Linked DNA regions of Homo sapiens: all the other regions are linked to region 2. The links are contacts of gene promoters, found by promoter capture Hi-C in blood cells and fetal thymus (Javierre and others, 2016). All regions are on one chromosome and are shown on one strand. The core of a region is centred on a gene start or on the middle of the fragment in contact, and the rest is flanking DNA. Distances in the headings are between cores, read along the strand shown. Region 1 overlaps SPON1 (spondin 1). Region 2 holds the start of PTH (parathyroid hormone). Region 3 overlaps SPON1 (spondin 1). Region 4 overlaps SPON1 (spondin 1).

Region 1 (4,836 bases), core at 1,323-3,822, 770 kb after region 2:
TGGATAGAGAATTCACCTGCAGCTGTGTTTTATAGGAGTGTCTTTCTTGCAGTGGTGGGGAGGAGGGCCAATACATTTAGGCGGGACATACATTACCCAGGTCCAGCCCACTCCTCCCACTCCTGTTGTACATTGGACTTGGCTGATCCCATAAAGCATGACCTCCCCTGCTCTGTGCACAAATGCATATGGGCCTGCCCACACATTAGTATGCAGATGTATACAGGCACACAAGTATATACACATTCTAGGGAATTCAGGACAATGTCCAAAAATGCATCCCTGAGCCTCTCCTTTAGTGCCTGATTCTTAGTGAGTGTGGGATGTTTCTGTCTCTAGGAAGACCCTGCTAAGATCCTCAGTGGCCTTTCTAGTGGGGACTTATGTAGTCATATTGCTACCCTCATGTCATAACCATCGGGGGGGGTCAGCAGGGAGATGAAAGAGAGTGAAAAGAAGAGCAGTAGGCTGCTGAGCCACTTCTTGCTCCATAGATTTCACTCTTATTTGAACCCATGGGCCAATTCCACTTTATTCCAGGGGCCAAAGCAGGGGACTCGGTGTGGAACACTGTGGGGTCAGGGAGATCAACGAAAACAAAAGGAACCTGTTCTCAGTGGCAAACCTGGTTCTTGATCTAGACACCATCCCATGCTTGCTGTCCCCATGGTCCGAGTGGAGTGACTGCAGCGTGACCTGCGGGAAGGGCATGCGAACCCGACAGCGGATGCTCAAGTCTCTGGCAGAACTTGGAGACTGCAATGAGGATCTGGAGCAGGTGGAGAAGTGCATGCTCCCTGAATGCCGTAAGTCCTGGAGCTCCTCAAGGCCCATCACTTCTATGTTCCTGAGTCCAGGGAGCCCCGAACCAGCCAGTGCTAATACTGCTAGATCCTAGAATAACATGGTTTGCTGGGGAAGAGTTTGGGGTTTGGCTTTCAGTGTTTGCAGTTACTTAAACACTGCAGTCAGTTTCATTAATAAAGTGAGAATCCCACTACCGTCTACAGAACACCCAAAGTTAAGGTTCCTGTGAAGTCTAAATGACAGACACATACGAAAAACAGCACAAAGCTCAATAAACCTTAGTTCTTTCCCTCCTCTCCCCCAACAATTATAGGCTTGCCTGACCCATGGATTTTCCAAGCATTTTAATTCTATTTTCCCTGTGACCATTTTAATTCCCCATGACCAGAGGCTGGACATTAAATCAATGACTCCTGCAGACTGGTAAGAAAACCAGCAAGAAAACAAGCCAAGTTCTCAAAAACTCACCCCACCCCGCTCCACTCCCAGTCCTGTTTTCCAAAGTCTCTGCGATCAGCTGTTTATATTACATGGGACTAATCTCCAAGCAGAGCAAGCCAGTTTCCTTGGCTGGTCTTCCAAGAGCTGCTTTTTTGGGTGGTAAAAGGGCAGGCACACTGGCTGTGGCTCTGGCCCCCTCCAGCATGTACTTGCAGTCGTTCATCCTCCCTCCCCTAGCTAGTAACCTTCAGCCGATGACTCAGCACCTCTGTTCCTCAGTTTCTCCATCTGTAAAATAGCAGGAAATACTTCCTAGGTTGCTCTGAGGATGAAACCAAGTAATTGGTCCAAAGTATGAGCACTGGACATGGCAAGGATAGGCCTTACTTAATCCCTGCTCCATGCTCCAGCTCCTGGGTTGTTTTAGGAGACTCAGCCATGGGTGGAGGTAACTTGGACCACCCACTAGAGAAAGCCTGGGGTTTTCAGTAACTAAGATTGGCCCATGGTTCAGGCCAGCTCACCAGAGTTGGGGCCCCATAGCCTTCTGACTTAGAGTGCCTGGGGTCCACTGAAGTAAGGGAGAAGAAAATGAAAATTTATGGAGCACTTACAGGGCTGGGAGCATCTCATTTAATCCTTACAACCTAATGAAAAAAAAAATACCATGATCCCCATTTTGCAGATAAGAAAGCTGCCTGAGCTTCCACAGGCGGGATAAAAGAACTGAAACTGTTGAACTAAATGAGGACATCTAAGTCCACCACCCTGACTTTGGCCTTGCAAGACCAACAGAGAGCTTGGAATAATTTACCTCCCTGGGACACATCCTGACAGTCAAACTGATGTGTTATTTTCCTTTCACATTTATGAGATGCTGGCTTAGTAAGAATTTACTGGATCTCGATAAACCATAAAGCACCACTTGCTCCTGACCCTCTTCTCTACTGAATGTCCCATTTCTGGCTCCTGTGTTTTTTGCATAGACCACCATATATAGAACACAGGATGATGTTGAGAATGAAAAGCTGCCAGGGTGTGTTAGAACCACAATGTCCTTGGTATTGGTCCACAAGGGTCAGCCGCCTTTAGCTTGTTGACTTGTTCTCTCCAAAGAGCAGCAGGGGGCTTGCTGGCCTTGCTCTGAAAAATATCACCAGTGAGTTTGGGACTGTGGGAAGCTATTCTGTACTTGAGGCTGATCTGACAATATTCTAGTTCACAGAGCAGGGCAAGAGGCTCTGAACACATCCTGAAAGTCCTCCAAAGCCTTCTTGAGTCATAGAGGGAGCATAGAATGGGTGATGACCTGGCACCAATCCTGCCTCTGCTGCTTACCAACCACACGGGCTGAAGTCAGCCTGCCTCTTTGGAGCCTCAGTTTCTTCTTCTGTAAAATAGCATGACACAGCACCTGCTTTGCATCCCTCATAGGCTTGTTGAGATGTTCAAAGGAGAGCGTGACCATATCTTGTTTCAGACATGTGATACACTCATGCCCATCTGTGTCTTGCCAGCCATTGACTGTGAGCTCACCGAGTGGTCCCAGTGGTCGGAATGTAACAAGTCATGTGGGAAAGGCCACGTGATTCGAACCCGGATGATCCAAATGGAGCCTCAGTTTGGAGGTGCACCCTGCCCAGAGACTGTGCAGCGAAAAAAGTGCCGCATCCGAAAATGCCTTCGAAATCCATCCATCCAAAAGCTACGCTGGAGGGAGGCCCGAGAGAGCCGGCGGAGTGAGCAGCTGAAGGAAGAGTCTGAAGGGGAGCAGTTCCCAGGTATGGCTCCCAAGTGTCAGCCTGGGTGGTCTCCAGGACAGGCAGGGTTCTGCACTGGGCTAAGTCTTGGACCTGTTTAAAAAAAAAAAAAAAAAAAAAGTCGGGGAGAGTCTGCATCTTCTGGAGTCTTCAGGCCACATTTTGATTCTTTAGATCCAAGTTTGTTCCCAAATATTGAGCAAGCATAATTTATAAAGGAGATTGGCGGTGGGGGTCATTTATCAAAGAACATTTAGATAACCTAATTACCTGCCAAAAATAAATTTTCAAGCAAAGAATCTTTAGGAATTACAGTTCCTTCTTTACACACATATAAAACCAATAATGTGTCCAACTTTGCTCAAAGTCAGTTATGACTTAGCAACACCATTCACTCCTTGCAAAGAGGGAAAATGATACAGATGTGTCAAAGGAGTCTTGTCTTGTTCATCATTTAGGGAATGTTCCTGAGAACCTCCCAGAACACATCATCTTCCATTTTAAGGGTGTGGCTCAGACAAGGCAGCCGTGGCCTGAGACTTTATGATTTTTTTTTGCAAGGCTAACCAGAAGTTTATCAGCAGTGTCATGTCAGCCTTGAGTTTTATTTCCCCAAATAATATTGATCCAAGCTGACAAATAACTAATAGAACAATGCACCAAGTGCTCAGGGAGCTGAGGAATGAGCATCATCTTACATTGACTGGAGTTCAGGGAGATGTCAGAGCAGGGAAAACTAGAGTGGGTCTTGAAAAATCTAGAGGAGTTTGCCACTTAGAAAAGTACATTCCAGGCCGGGCACGGTGGCTCATGCCTGTAATCCCAGCACCTTGGTAGGCCAAGGCAGGCCAATCACTTGAGGTCAGGAGTTTGAGACCAGCCTGGCCAATATGGTGAAACCCCATCTCTACTAAAAGTACAAAAATTAGCCGGGCATGGTGGCGCACACCTGTAATCCCAGCTACTCAGGAGGCTGAAGCAGGAGAATCACTTGAACTGGGGAGGCAGAGGTTGCAGTGAGCCAAGAGCACACCATTGCACTCCAGTCTGGGCAACAAGAGTGAAACTCCGTCTCAAATTAAAAAAAAAAAAAAAGAAAAGTACATTCCAGGCAGCAAGAATAGTCATTACAAAGGCACAGAGATGCCAAAGACCATGATAGGTCCAAGTGATAGGTCCAAGTGATAAATGGGATGCAGATGAAGCACAGAGGACAAGGCAGGCAGGAAACCAGGCTGGGAAGGCAGGGACCAGACCACACAAGGCCAGTGGCCCACCAAGGATTTTGGGACCTGATTCTGTAGGTGGTTTTAAGCAAGAGGGTGACTGTATCAGACCTGTGTTGACTGATTTGGGGATGGCAAACAGACACAGAGGCCAGATAGGTTTTATTTGTAACCCAAGAGAAAGATTATACATCCCCAAACTCCAGCTTAACTTCAGAGTTCCAGGACTTCAGAAGAAAAAGAAAATGCCTGCCAGGGACTTCAGTGCTGAAGGTGCCCATGTAAAAAAGTGAAGATTAACATGTACATCAAGTTTTCTGATTTTTAAAGGCCTATTCTTTTTGAAGCATGAGGATCTCCTTGATGGTTCAGGATCCTTATGATTAGGGAGCTGTTTGCATATCAAAGTGCTGTCTGTTCTACATGGTAGTCAGCCAGTCAACAAACATTCATTAAAGCCTACTATGTGGCAGGTACATAGTTGTACGGTACATTCCTCCATGACTCTTAGCTGTAGTGTGGTTAACAAATATCTCATGTGTAACCATAAATGTGGTGGGTTCTATAAAAGAGGAATCTAGAGTGCTATGGAAGCAGTAATC
Region 2 (4,799 bases), core at 246-2,745:
CTGCTTCATCTAATGCCACATCTTCCCTCAAATGTGTGGTCACCAAATGTTCTGCAAAAAGGGTCTCTAGCTTTTTACTTTTCTTTTTGGCAAATTAAGCCCTTTAAAATACTTCTGACCTATCTTTATACTCAGATCTCACCTCATCTCAAGTTTTATGGGGTAATGCGCCAGTGAAAGGTACAGTGGTATTAGTGAGTTCTGAAGCTTCTAATTACATAGACAATAGAGGCTGGCTGGTGAGCCATGCTTCTCATGCTCCCTTCTGTCACACTGCAGAAATCTTAAGCTACAAGAGGAATGAAAGAGCCTATTTTTGAGAAATCCCCCCGCACTGCATTTTATGTTGATTATACCTAAATGTTTATAACTTGCTTGAAAATGCCTAATTTTCTTCATAGTGTAAATTGTTAACACTATTTACGTAGCAAATCCTTTTCTTAAGTAACCTTCATTTCAGGCATTGTAATAACCATAAATACCAAACTAATAGGTGCTAATCTAGAGATTTTCACTAAATTAATTCACATTTCTCCTAGCATTAAAAATAATGTGTCAAAGCATTTAAAAATCATCTGATTAATTACTTGTGATATGGATTTCGAGCTTTATCTCTGAATGGAATGCTTGTTTGTAGCTTATTTCTTCAACTTATTTTATTAACAATTATCTTTTAATATAACTTTTGTCTCTTTCCTCGTTTCACATCAGTATAGGATATTCTTGCCTTAATCTGCATTTCAGTACTTGCAAAGGCTGTTATTATAGAAGTGCTTTTCCTTAATGCTCAGTGTACTACCTTTTAACATACACATAGAGTAGTTATGTACTCCTATTTTACAGGGAAACTGCATCATTTAGAAATAGCATAGGAAATACTGTTTTCAGAATACAGCTGTCATTTATGTAAAGGAAATAAATATTTACTAGTCAAACTGGGCTTATCCAACTTTAGTATACAGATTGGGCTCTTTATGAGCCATAAAATAAATAATCTAGATAAGAATACTCTGCAGGAAAAACAGAATATTAACTCCACTTAATAAATTTATAAAGATTATTTAAATCAGAACTATTCATTCACCATCAACCTGTTTTATTTCAAAATTTTGACACCGATACTATTATATTAAAGCATAGCATGCCAAATTTTAATGATTTTTTGTTGTAATTTCAGATGAGGTTTTAAAAGGCAAGGTATCTCAGAAGACTTTAATCAAAAAGGATTTTGTGATTTGAGTAGCATTAATTTATTTTGTATGTGGCATTTTATATTAAACATAACTCAAACTTCTTAGCATTTTACCTTGAAGAAACAACATGGTATTTGTAGAAATGGTACACATTAAATAATAACTTGATTATCAAAATCTCATGAGATTCAGAAGTGAATTTTTAAGTTTACTTACCATACAATGTCTTAGAACAAGATCTTCGTTCAGGTATGTTAGTAGCTGATGCTGAGTAAACTAAAGACAACTGATGAATTGGACTGCAGACCCCTTAAATGGTGACTTTTATATATAGGTCTTCTGCTTACCAAGAGAGGCTCTTTTATTGTTACAGATGATGTCACTCCCAATTCTCTGGATCTCAACTATAGGTTCAAAGCAGCACATACACACACCCATTGGGCGGTGCACACTCTTCTTAAGTTTCAGATAATTGGATACTAAAAGGAAAACAGCATTTGGCTTGACAAGGGGCTTATGCAAAGACTTTTAACAAATACAGAATTATACCATCGAGAAAAATTCTATGTGGATTAATGAATCTGAATTTATACTGTAAAAAGACTGATTTCAAAGGTTTATGATAAAGTCATTATCTTACTTGAAAATAAAACCCAAAAATAAGTGTATTTGTTATAACCGTACTGTTGGTACAGTTTTTATGGTAATAAATCATAAATGTTAGGCTTACTTTACAAGCCATTTTCAACCAATCCATGTCACTTCTGGTCATCTTTCAAAAAACAGATATAGCCCTTTTCTTAAAGGAAGTGTTAAGAATAATTTGAGAAAATGCTCTTAGTACATAATTACTTTAAAAGCTTCAAAAGTGAAATTATTTTAAAATTTATTTAACTTATATTTTATTTGTGCATCTTAATCTATAATAATAACATTTGATAAGCACTAACTGCATGCCTAACTACATATATTATCCCACTAGATCTTCACAGCAGTCCTTTAAAGTTAGTACTTAAAGTACTAAAGTTAAGTGCTTATCCCCATTTTTACATGAGGAAACTTAGGCTTGGAAAGCAGAAAAGATGGAATTCAACAAAGGTCTTTATGACACCAGATTCTTACTACCTCAGTTTCTGCCTAGAAATACAGCCCTTCTTTGAACTCCAGTCTTCTTGACTTTAATTTGCAAAGTCATCTGAAAACACAGCAAAAGCTCTTTGCAACATTTTCCCCTAGGGGTTAGGTCTTTATTCTCATGTTCCCTAAGGGATGATGAGAGCCTGCTCCAAAACCTATTGGAGGCATGATGCTGCCACATGTCTGACTTCAAATATTCCTCCAGCAATATTTTCCTGGTCCACCTGTCAAAACACCCTGAATGTCTTTGATATATCTAGGACTCCTTTAGACAGCTTTGCCTTCCCACCAAAGATCCGGTGCCAGAGTGGGATCAGTTCTCTCAGCTCTGGTCCCATCCTGGCTTCATGTCATCCTTTTTCCTACTAGCCATTGTCAAGGTTTGACTCTACCTTAGGTAAGAGCCAGTACAAATTTGAATAGTAACCGTATGGAGTTTATAATGAGAGATATATACTAGTCCTGTCCTAGGAGATTCTCCACTCTGGGTTAACCTCACTTAGAGTGTTGCTCCAGGCTCCATTTTAGAAGCAGTAGAAACAAATGGGAACATACACTGAGGATATCAATCAGTTTGGTGAAAATGTTGAAAACTATAACATGAGAAGTAGTTGAATGAAACTAGAAAAGTCTGAGGAAAAAAAGACGGGATGACTTTATAGCTGTGTTTAATTATTTATAGGGTTACCATAAGGAAGAAGGAGTATTCTCTGTGGTTTAAGAAGGAAGGGCTGGGTTCATTGGGTTTAACTTGGACATTATAATTGTCAAAATAAGGAATCAAGTACCTTCTCAAATAGTGATTTCTCCATCACTGAGAATATTCAAGTAGAAGGTAGATGAGCATTTATCAGGCATACTATAGAGATTCATACATAGAAGAAAGTTGAACTAGATAACCAAGAGGTCTCTTTTAACTGTAAAAATCTGTTGTCTTGATCTTTTTAAAGACCTCTTCTGATGCAAACTCTACATGTGATGTTTGTGTGTCATTTTTCTGCTATACTCTGTTGAGAAGAAGAATTGGAAATACAGATGGTTTTTCTTTTTTCTTTGAGATAGGATCTCACTCTGTCACTCAGACTGGAGTGGTGCAGTGGTATGGACATGGCAGCCTCAACTTTCGGGGCTCAAGCAGTCCTTCCACCTCAGCCTTCTGAGTAGTGGGGGCTATAGGCACACAGCACCACAACCAGCTAATTTTTAAATTTTTGTGGAGGCAGAGTGTAGCTAAATTGCCCAGGCTGTCCTTGGCTCAAGCAGTCCTCCCACCTCTCGCTCCCAAAGTGCTGGGATTACAGGCATGAGCCACCACACCCAGCCACTAATGGATTTTTATTTTTTAACTTTTAAGTTCAGGGGTACATGTACAGGCCTGTTATATAGGTAAACTCATGTCGTGGAGGTTTATTGTACTAATTATATCATGACCCAGGTATTAAGCCTAGTGCCCATTAGTTATTTTTCCTGATCCTCCGCCTCCTTCCACTCTCCATCCTTCAGTAAGCCCCAGTGTGTGTGGTTCCCTTCTTTGTGTCCATGTGTTCTCATCTTTTAGCTCCCAATTATAAGTGAGACCATGAGATATTTGGTTTTCTGTTCCTATGTTAGTTTGCTAAGGATAGTGGCCTCTAGCTCCATCTTGTTCTTTTTTATGGCTGCCTAGTATTCCATGGTATGTAGGCACCACGTATTCTTTATCCAGTCTACCACTGTTGGGCATTTAGGTTGATTGCATGTCTTTGCTATTGTGAATAGTGCTATAATGAACATACGCATGCATATGTCTTTATTATAGAATGATTTATATTCCTTTGAGTATATACCCAGTAATGGGATTGCTGGATCAAATTGTAGTTTTGCTTTTAGTCTTTGAGGGATCGCCACACTGTTTTCCACAATTGTTGAACTAATTTACACTCCCACTAACAGTGTATAAATGTTCCTTTTTCTCCACAACCTCACCCATACCTGTTATTTTTTGGCTTTTTGATAACAGCCATTCTGACTGGTGTGAGATGGTGGCTCGTTATGGTTTTGATTTGCATTTCTCTGATGATCAGTGATGTTGAGCTTTTTTCCATACGCTTGTTGGCCACATGTATGTCTTATTTTGAAAAATGTCTGTTCATGTCCTTTACCCACTTTTTAATGGGGTTGTTTGTTTCTTGTAAATTTGTTTAATTTATAGATGTTGGATATTAGGCCTTTGTCAGATGCATAGTTTGCAAAAATTTTCTCCCATTCTGTAGGTTGTCTCTTTACTCTGTTGATAGTTTCTTTTGCTGTGCAGAAGCTCTTTAGTTTAATTATATCTCATTTGTTAATTTTTGCTTTCATTGCCATTGCTTTTGGCATCTTCTTCATGAAATCTTTGCTCATTCCTATGTCTATAACAGTATTGCCAATGTTGTCTTCCAGGGTTTTTATAGTTTCGGATCTTTAATCCATCTTGAGTTAATTTTTGTA
Region 3 (4,959 bases), core at 2,033-4,532, 730 kb after region 2:
ACAGAGGAAGGGTGGCTAAGCTAAACCAAGCGGTCAGGAAAGCCTTGAACTGCATTCTCAAGGACAAGTAGGCATTACCTAGGTGAGAAAGGGTTAAAAGGATTAAAAGGGAGATGGTAGTTTATGCAAAGAAGCTTAAAAAAAACAAAAGCTATGTGGTTCGGGAAACTGCAAGTAGAATATCTTTGATATGGAGGACCCTGGGTTCAGAGGCTGGTTCCTTTGCTTATTAGCTGCATGAATGGGACTGAATTTAGCTTCTCTAAGCTGCAGTTTCCTCAGCAGGAAACCCCACCTTAAAGGACTGTTAGTATGCAGATGAGATAATGCATGTAGCACTCTCATATCTAGCATAGAGGCCATACCCAGTACTTGACAGCTTGGTGATGAGGATGAAGATGAGGATGGTGGTGGCTGGCATAAAGGATACACATAAGGGTGAAAGACTGAGGGAGATATGAGGCCGGAGAAGTAGGTGGGGCCAAAGGGTGAGCCCTTGGGCTCCATGCTGAACAAAATTGGGCTTTACCCCTAAAGCCAAAGGAAGAATTTCAAGAGTGGAGTAGCCTGATCAAGTGTCTGTTTTAGAAAGTTCTGTCTGATGGACTGGGTGCAGGGAGTAAAACGGGAGGCAGGAACTGATTTTGGAGGCTCTTGCACTAATGTAAAGACAGTGAAGGCAATAGACATGGCACGGATGGAGTGACGGAAGCCTCTCCAGGGTGTGGCTGAGGGCGCCATTCCTTTATGATTTCTCAGGCTATGGATGTGAATTTTCCTAAGCCAGGTCTGCTCACTCACAGCAGGGCCCAGCTGCATGGAGGAATATAGAATCCAGGGTATTATCATTAGAATTAAGCTGCTTCGTTGAGTCCATAAATGTCACACTCGGGCATACCAGCATGTCTTTTTTTCTGGCTTACAATGTAAAAAGTAACAATGGTTATCTGTGGGTAGTGGGATTATGAATTGTTTTTATATTATTCCTTTTGCCTGTGTCTATTTTCTAAGTGTTCTACAAAGAACATATTTTGTATACGGAAAAATTTATTATAAAAATGTTTTTTTAAAAAAACAAAACTATACATAGTTTCGATCCAAACAGCATCCTCTCTCCTTACTGCCTGAGTAAGGAAATGCTTGATTGAATTAGAAATGGGAGGGGAGGTTGTTGATAGGATCCAACTTCAAACTTCTAAGCTATTTATTTTCTTCCTTTTGCTTTGGAGATTGTGCTGTGCCAATGAAGATAGACTGAAGACGTGAATAGTCTTGAGTTTGAAAAATAATCGTCGTTTTTATTGTTACAGCTTCAGGCATGGATTATTTCCATCATTTATATTTCAGGAAACCTCAAGTACAGCAAAATTGCCCAATAGTTAGAGAAGATCGGATTATTGATACTCTCTTTTTAAAGAAAATAAAATATCTTATCAGAGAGAAGTCCAAGTGACAATAATATCACCATACGTCTACAGGGTTGCAAAAGTAAGGAGTTGAAAGGAAGCTCTGGTTTAAGTACGTGATGTTTAAGAGAACTGCAGACAGGGGTCTAACAGCTGAGATTTTTCAGCACCATGTTCTAAAGCACTTTCTTGCTGGGCCTAAATCAAATGTTTGTCTATATAATGTCTTAGACATTGTATGCATCATCGGGCCATCTTCCTAAAAGGTGGCATTTTGATTACAATCTTCAATTTGGATTTTTAAAAATTTGTAATACCAGTAATGATAAATAGTGCACATAGTTGTATGGTTCATAAAGTGTTCTAACATTTAATCTTTACAACTCTAAGTGTTTGAGTTCACTTTAGTCCATTTTAGAGATGAAGAAGGTAAGGCTCATAGAAGCTTACTGACTGGCCTGAGATCACACAGCTAGGAAGTAGAGAGAGAGGATTCAGATCAAGCTCTTCGGACTTGAATAGGAATGCCCTTTACACTGCTCCCTTCTAATGACAGGTTTTAGTTACAGATGCCTCTTTACCCACCATGGGGTTACTTCCCAGTGAACCCACTGGAAGCTGAAAATATCCTAAGTGGAAAACTGACATTTTTTAAAACATAATGGGATGTGAAAACACAAAATACAATATCCAAAAAATGCTGGCAACACAGTACACTGTACAGTATCGGTTGTTTACCCTTGTGATCGAGTGGTTGACTGGGAGCTGTGGTTCACTGTTGCTGTCCAGCACCACAAGAGTATCATATCACAAATTGCTAGCCTCAGAAAAGGTCAAAATTCGACGTACAATTTTTACTGAATGCATATAGCTTTCACATCATCATAAAGTCAAAAAATTGTTAAGCCAAACTATCTTAAGTCAGGGACTGTCTGCCTTTTATTTTCATTAGACTCACTAATCAAAAAGGCAAGCAGGGCCCATAGGAATTATATCCATTCCTGTTGCTGTTGTAACAAATTACCCACAAATCTGGTGCCTTGGGGTAACACAAATTGGTTCTCTTACAGTTCTGGAGGTTAGAAGTCCAAAATGAGTCTTACAGGGCTGAAGTCAAGATACAAGCAGCGCTGGTTCCTTCGGGAGGCTCCATTGCACAGTCAGTGGCTGCCAGTCTTCCTTGGCTTGTGGCCACATCATTCCAATCTCTGCTTCCATTATCACAGTACCTTCCCCTCTCCTTTAGTCAAATCTCCCTGTGCCTCTGTCTTGTAAAGACACTTATATTTAGGGCCTACCCTGATAATCCAGGACAATCTCCCCATCTCAAGATCATTAACAATATCTGCAAGGCCTTTGTGGACATATAATGAAGCATTCACAGGATCCAGGGATCAGGATGTAGATATTTTGGGGGGCCGTTACTCAGCTTACCATGGCAATATTCGTTTCATTCATTTATTTAGTTATTATTTAGTTATTTTTGTAGAGACGCAGTGTCACTATGTTGCCCAGGCTGGTCTCAATCTCCTGGCCTCAAGTGATCCATCTACTCAGCCTCCCAAATAGCAGGGACTTCAGGCACAAGCCACTACACCCAGCTTTATTTCATTTATTAAGTGGTCCCTAAATGTAAGATTCCCTGAATTTAAATTTAGGCCATAGCTCTTCACAGTTTTCTATTTTAACCTTTCACTTTTGTGTGCCTTGAGGCCTTAGTATTTGTTTGCTTGCTTGCTGGCTGGCTTTTAAGCAAATTTAACTCTGACTTTCTATTGAAAATAACTCACCCAAAACCCCTCCTCCTGCTCTCTGTCAGGGATGGATGCAGACCACTGACTTTTTCCAGGCCAGGCTTGGAAAGGGCTTACAGAGAGGTGCATTCTTTATTGTTCGGCCTCTCCTAACTACTGCCATTTATTGAGCACTTAATATGTGTCAGAAACTTTGAAATCATTCTACATTTATTTACAGCTCATTTGTACCTTGGAACAGGCCTGTAAGGTAGATTATTATCCCCATTTTACCAATGAGAAAATCAAGGCTCAAAGAGTTAAGTAACATTCCCAGGGTTACACAGTTAAGCCACAGACCCTCCAAAACCCAGCCTCTTAATACCATGCTTTTGCAAAATTAAATAATTCCCAAACCTGCGTAATGTATAGATCTCTTTTAAAGGGCAAATACAAGCTCACAAACACCCAAGGTTGAGTTATAAGGATTTTCATTATCATATTATTTAAATATGTGCAAAGATAACCAGATATGAACTCCTTATGCTTATAGCTCTCTTAAGATGATAAAAACAAAATAGTGATACTAATAATAACACAAATAAAACTGCAAACACTTTAAATGCTAATTAAGAACATTGCTTTAATGTGATGGGTGATGCTGTTTTGCTGAAATTAAATGACTGCTCACAATCTCGATGCAATGCTGACCCTCGTAGCCTGGGTCCTTCCGAGTTTGGTATGCATACACCAGGGCCCTTTGGGCTAACTCAGTTCTCCCACTGTTCTTCCAACCACTGACAACACATTGTTCAGGCAGCAGCACACGTATCCTTTGGGCTTTACCTAGTCAAAATGTCTTTGATTTGTTAACTCTGCTTTCCTTTTAGAACCCACTCTCTTTAGCAGCTGGGTTCTCTGGGAAGGAGACCTGCATCAAGATTAGAGTGCAGGAAGTTACCAAAGAATGTTCTTGGGAACCACAGCTGTGGGAGGCAGGGGAAGGAAGCAGGATGTGCAGAGGGAGAAGTTGAGCTGTGTCGCAGGCCCAACAAAGACCTCTACCAACCAACTCACTGGGCTGGGTGGCTCTTCAGAGTTGTCCTGCCTTGGGGACAAGAGCACTGACCTTTGTGCCCCTGGAGGATCACTGGATGAGGGTCACCCTGGAAGGAAGTTTGACCTCACATTAGGCTGTGTTATCTAGCCAATGCCAAAGAACTGACAGCTAAGAGCAACCTTTTACCATCATCCCTGCAGCTGGGAAGTAAGTCCTTCACTCCTGAAGAGAGATCTGGACAGAGCGTCACATTGTCTTCCACACTAACGCACAATAAAGTTGTATAGGGCAACCGTGAGATGTGAAAACAAATGCATCCCAGCCACTGAACTGCCTGGTGATGCTTGACTAGATCTTTGAGATGATCCTTAATATGTACACAATCTATTATTTTATTCTCACAAAAATATAAATATAAATGTTTAAATTCCCACAGAGAACTAAGAAGACTCTAACAACATATTTACAGGCCCCTAGAGGTCTTCAGAACCTACTCCAAGAAAGAGGAAGGTTAGGAAGCTTCCACCCCAGTTACCTCTGCTGGGAATTGCTGCATATACCTGTGATATCTCCGTGGTGTGACAATCACAAAGTTTTACGAATACTTCTTTGGGTGGCAGTAATCATGATGGACAGATCCTCTCACAATTCACATGTAATATTTGGGAATAAAAACTTGATTGAACATTCATTCAACATATTTGATCAGGCACATACTATGACGTGGGTACTTTGCTAGACACCTGGTGGGGAAGATACC
Region 4 (5,121 bases), core at 329-2,828, 700 kb after region 2:
ATCAGGCAAAAAAACAGACCTGGTAAGGCCAGGACAAAGACAAGGCTTAGGAGTGAGGTGCCCCACCCCCCGCCCCCATCACAGGATGCAACGTCTGGAAAGAGGTGGGACAGGAAGTTGTGCCCGGGGGAGAACATCAAATTCTAGTCCAATATAGTCCAAACTGAGGAATAAAATGAAAATGTACAACCAAGGTAAAGAACCAAACCAGAGATGCTGGTGAGTGAAGAGCATTCAAATGGACATTTCTAGAGGAATTCTCGGGGTAGAGTGCAGGCATCCAAACTGGTGTTTCCCACCAACTTGCTGTGTGCATTTGAAGAAACCAGAGCAGAATGCATGCAGCTCCTATGCAAAAGACGGATAAATTACAACACAGAAAAGACAGTCTAAACTCGTGCACCAGCAGAGCAAGTCTCTGATGTATTTGCTCCAAAATGTAAATGATGAAGCCAAATATTGGACACAGTTGAGATCAGGCACTGGAAAATTATTTCAATGGTGCCAAGGCCACACGCATGGAGGAAAAGCAGTGTCAGCAGCAAGTGTGGTGAGAAACAGGGTAAAAGCAGGATGGTCCTGAGATTCTAAGATCAGAACCAGGAAGTGTTGGCAGGAAGGCCTGGGAGATGATCAGAACAGTTCTCCCTCCAGAGAGGACCCAAGCCTCACTCGCACTGCCACGCCACCCCAATCTTGAAGGTACCCCATGCCGAACCTCATCACTGACAGCTTGTGAAGGTGTATAACGCCCAGGAGGAGTTGTGGTAAACGTATGCACACATATATATAAATATCATCTTGCTCCAAGGTTTTTGAGGATGGTGAGCTCTGCTTGTCACAAAGGTAACAGGGGTGGTCATTGGTTTCACTTTATGTGACCTTAAAGTGCATTTTAAGTGAACTCACATTCAATGTCACTTTGTGGGATGCTTGGGGAAGAGGGTCTCCTTTAGTGTCCAGTCTTCTGAGGCTCTGCCTTTTCCCTCTCTGGCCCTCCTCAGACAAGCAGAGCTGAGACTCTGCCTTCAAAGCTCGGGTATTGCCTGGAATCCCTGAGGCAGTGCTAGCTGGGGAATCCAGTCAGCTAACACATGCCTCTCAGACAGTCTATACTCTCTCCTCTGACATCCAGGAGGGCTCATGGCAGGGCCACACGGTGAGACCTTGCCCATCACACAGCCATTACAGAGGATTCCCACAGAGCCTTTTGACAGTGGTGGCCACTCATGGCTTTCAGAGTATGCTGCTTCCCTGAGGAGCTCACCAAGGGCTGTGATACTCTCAGAAGTGCCTCTGAAAGGCAGCAGTTTACAGAAGGACCCCTGCTGAGCCCCTGGTGAAGCTGAGCTGCTGCACAGCTTGCCCAAGGAACACGTTTTAGAAATATCTTCAGATCCACTGGGACTGCCAGAGGCTCCTCATCCTGTGCCCAGCACAGGCCAGTGGTTCTAGCCCTTTTGGTTCAGGATAAAACTTCACCCTTCCTAGGTTTTTGTCTTTCCACTCATCCCTCACTGGTGAGGTAAAATATGCCTATTAAATCTTCCCATTGGTGTGCGAGAGTCAATATTTAGGGTACTTGACAAAAGCTCTAGATTCCTCTTCCTCTGAGTCCTTACACAGCATACACCTATGGGCATGGAATTGAATAATCTGCCAGTCCTCCATTTCCTTCAGCTCCCTAAACAGCAAATACAAACTGAACTTCATTAGCAACTCCAACTTGAATGGCAAATGCCAGCCACTGGGTCAGCTCAAAGCTCAAGGATAAATTTCAGTGGTGAAACATCCACAGAAAACCCTCAAGTGGGAGAATGCTAAGAAACAGTGGGAAAGAACTAATGGGAATCTAGGCCTACTTCACACACACACACACACACACACACACACACACACACACGGACTGCCTGCGTGGCTGGTACAATAAAAGTGTGTATTTACACTCGCTCATCTATTTCATTACAAGGGACCAATCACAAAGACATTTATTTTGTCTTCTTTCCTGCTCTGGTAAGCTAATTACAAAGTAATTGAATTAGCTACAGAATAAATTAGTTGTTATCAAACTGCAAGTAAAGGGATTCTTCTAAAAATGATTTTAGGGTAAAACACTGGCTTGCACAATTATTCCAGGTTAGGAAATATTTTTAAAATTTATTTTATTAATATGTTTATTGTAGGAGGAAATCCTAAATTTAAAGGTAAACCTAAAGTAAATATTTATTCTACCTTTAATGAATGACAAAGAAAGGAAAGCATGGGTAAATTCTTGAAAATGCTAGAGGGGGCAGTCTACGTGAAATGTTTACATGATAATCTTTGTTGGTTGAAGTCACTGAAATATTGAAACGTCTTTAGTGGTGAGCAAGTGGGGTGGAATGGTGCTTACTCTACATAATGTTCGATTTAGCACCCTTACCACATGTAATTACTAAGTAGCCAGAAAGAATGTCTTTTTCAAAAGTACATACTCTGCCCTCTTAAAAATCTCAAAAATAGCATGTTTTCTTTTCAACTTCTAAATTACACTTCTATTAAATGCTATGCAGAGTTCAGAAAATGGCTGCCTCTGATCAATCTGGTGTGCAAAGCCCTTCATGAAGTCATATCCATTTGATCATAAATAAGCTCAAAGATACCTTGCAATAAAAGTGTCAGGCTTTCAGCTCTCTGGCAAAGTAGAAGTTATTTATACATTGAAAGGGTGTGGGATATTAATGGCAAAGACAAAAATGATTGGAAAAGGCCTGGAATCAAAGGACAAAAGCTGGAATTATTAAACACAATACAACATAATGCCACAATCAGAAACACTGTAATACCATGGAATTCTTACAGTGCCGGTCAAATTATGCCCATGAGCATAATACTTGAGACTTGAGGGTGAAATGTCAGGTCCTATACTTGGGCCTGGAAGCAACAGCACAATTACAAGATCAAATAACAGTATTGGGAATAAAAATAGTTTGCAGGTTTTAGTGGGCAGTGAACTCAGAGTTCATGGCATGCAGAGGCTGCAGAAAGGCCAATTTGAGGATGGACAGTCCTACAAGGCATAGTCTGGAAGCAGGGTTCTTAACTGGGGCTCTGTTGGTGGGGAGTGGATTTGGGAGTCACAGCCTCTATTGTCAGACATTTATTTCACAGTTTCATAGCAACATTGTCATGATTAGCTATGTACATATAACTTTGCAACCATCCTTAATGAATACCTAAGGATCATCCTAGAAGTGAAATTTCTGGGTCTGAGGGTGTATACATTCTTAGTGCTTTTAATACATACTACCATGTGCCTCTAGAAACATTTTCTGTTTCTAATAAGAGCAGTTGAAAATTCCTGTTTCCCCAGCTATCCACCATTTGCCTCATGATTTTCTCTAGGACTAAATTTTAAAGTAGAGTCTTTAAAGTAGAAGGGAGTCCAAATTCCATCCCTTTCATTTTATAGGAGAAAAAAAATTGAAGCCCATGAAGGATAGGCGATGTGTCCTCTAATACCAGAGCTTCTCAGGGGGAGAGAAGATGGGGGTGGCTATAGCTCCCTTCTCCTGGCCTTAGGCCTGATATAGAACAGGTGCATGGAAACGTCCAGCATAGAGAAATCTACAGAAACAGAAAGTAGATTAGTGGTTGCCTAGGCTTGTGGATGGGAGGGAAGATGGGGAGTGACAACTAACGAGTATGGATGGGTGTTTTGGTGGGGCCATTGAAAATGTTCTAAATCTATTGCGGTGATGTTTACACAACACTGTGACGATACTAAAAATTATTGAGTTACTTTAAAGAGGTAAATTGTATGTTATATAAAATATATCCCAATAAAGCTGCTATTTTAAAAAAAAATGTGCTCAGTAAACATTTGTAGAAGGACAGAATAGAGGGAGGAAAACAGATCAAACATCCTTGTTCCTTCATTTCCAACCAGTGGTCTTTCCACTTTCTCACTTTCACTGAAGTAGAACATGTCTAAAATTGTCCCCAGCTCAGTGCTGGGTTTCCCCTAGGTGTTTCCCTGTGTTTCAGGAATGTGTTTTTTTAGTAAACACTAACCTGCCTCTTCCAGAACTTTTGAGTAGAGAATTTTTTAAATCTGAGCTTCAGGCCAGGCATGGCAGCTCATGCCTGTAATCCCAGCCCTTTGGGAGGCTGAGGTGAGTGGATCACTTGAGATCAGGAGTTTGAGACCAGACTGGCCAACATGGCGAAACTCTGTCTCTACTAAAAATACAAAAATTAGCCAGATGTAGTGGTGCATGCCTTTAGTCCCAGCTACTTGGGAGGCTGAGGCAGGAGAATCTCTTGAACCCGGGAGGCTGGGGTTGCAGTGAACAGAGATGGCACCACTGCACTCTAATCTGGGTGACAGAGTGAGGCTCTGTCTCAAAAATAACTAAATAAAATCTGAGCTTCAGCCTTTTATATTTTCCTGAGAATCTAGCTCAGGGCTGGTCACAAAGTAGGCACTTGATAGATGCTTATTTACTGAAATACTGGTGAACTGTATGTACATTAAATATTAAGTAATAAGGCAGTAATATAGCATTATTTTCTAATATTGATGCCTAATTTCTCCAGCTGTCAGTTCAAGCTCTGTCAATTCAGTTGGCAGTTAACACTCTGGCATTTCAGAGATTCTGATCTCCCCCCTTACATTTCACTGTGCATAGTGAGTTGTTACGGGCCCCACTTTGCCCTCAGTGCCCGAAAGCACAGGACTAAATTTAAGGCTCAGAAGTATTGACTGCAGCATCTGGGGGGCAAATCTAGAATCCATGAAGCTTAAACTTTATTCACTTTGGAAGGAGGAAAGGTCCTCTTTAAAAATAAATAAATAAATAAATAAATAAATAAATAAACAAGTGGGGGCTGCGCATGGTGGCTCACGCCTGTAATCCCAGCACTTTGGGGCAGTATCACCTGAGGTCAGGAGATCAAGACCATTCTGGCTAATGCAGTGGAACCGCACCTCTACTAAATATACAAAAAAAAAAAAAAAAAATTAGCTGGGCATGGTGGCACGCACCTGTAGTCCCAGCTACTCGGGAGGCTGAGGCAGGAGAATCGCTTGAACCTGGAGGCAGAAGTTGCAGAGAGCTGAGATCACACCACTGCACTCCA

What was found. The method cuts DNA at HindIII sites, captures the fragments that hold promoters and counts their contacts. A CHiCAGO score of 5 or more calls a contact.
Region 1: a fragment that was not itself captured here is called in contact with the fragment with the promoter of PTH in region 2 in 2 of 17 cell types (neutrophils and total CD4 T cells); the score reaches 6.9 in neutrophils.
Region 3: a fragment that was not itself captured here is called in contact with the fragment with the promoter of PTH in region 2 in 1 of 17 cell types (endothelial precursors); the score reaches 5.6 in endothelial precursors.
Region 4: a fragment that was not itself captured here is called in contact with the fragment with the promoter of PTH in region 2 in 1 of 17 cell types (endothelial precursors); the score reaches 5.9 in endothelial precursors.

What each region holds. Positions count from the first base shown.
Region 1 is chr11:14,259,947-14,264,782 of GRCh38, forward strand. It overlaps SPON1 (spondin 1), which reads left to right. Exons shown (of 16, transcript NM_006108.4): 14 at 642-806; 15 at 2,766-3,029. Among named protein-coding and RNA genes, the nearest start is that of RRAS2, 97 kb to the right of the region's middle. The HindIII fragment of the contact is 7,755 bases long and covers 1-4,836 here.
Region 2 is chr11:13,494,502-13,499,300 of GRCh38, forward strand. It overlaps PTH (parathyroid hormone), which reads right to left and starts at 1,496. Exons shown (of 3, transcript NM_000315.4): 1 at 1,410-1,496. RefSeq lists promoters at 1,429-2,179, 1,441-2,500, 1,493-1,655 and an enhancer at 1,870-1,891. The HindIII fragment of the contact is 1,846 bases long and covers 206-2,051 here.
Region 3 is chr11:14,224,302-14,229,260 of GRCh38, forward strand. The region is part of intron 6 of SPON1 (spondin 1); the gene reads left to right. Among named protein-coding and RNA genes, the nearest start is that of RRAS2, 130 kb to the right of the region's middle. The HindIII fragment of the contact is 2,867 bases long and covers 1,850-4,716 here.
Region 4 is chr11:14,192,665-14,197,785 of GRCh38, forward strand. The region is part of intron 6 of SPON1 (spondin 1); the gene reads left to right. Among named protein-coding and RNA genes, the nearest start is that of RRAS2, 160 kb to the right of the region's middle. The HindIII fragment of the contact is 6,401 bases long and covers 1-4,779 here.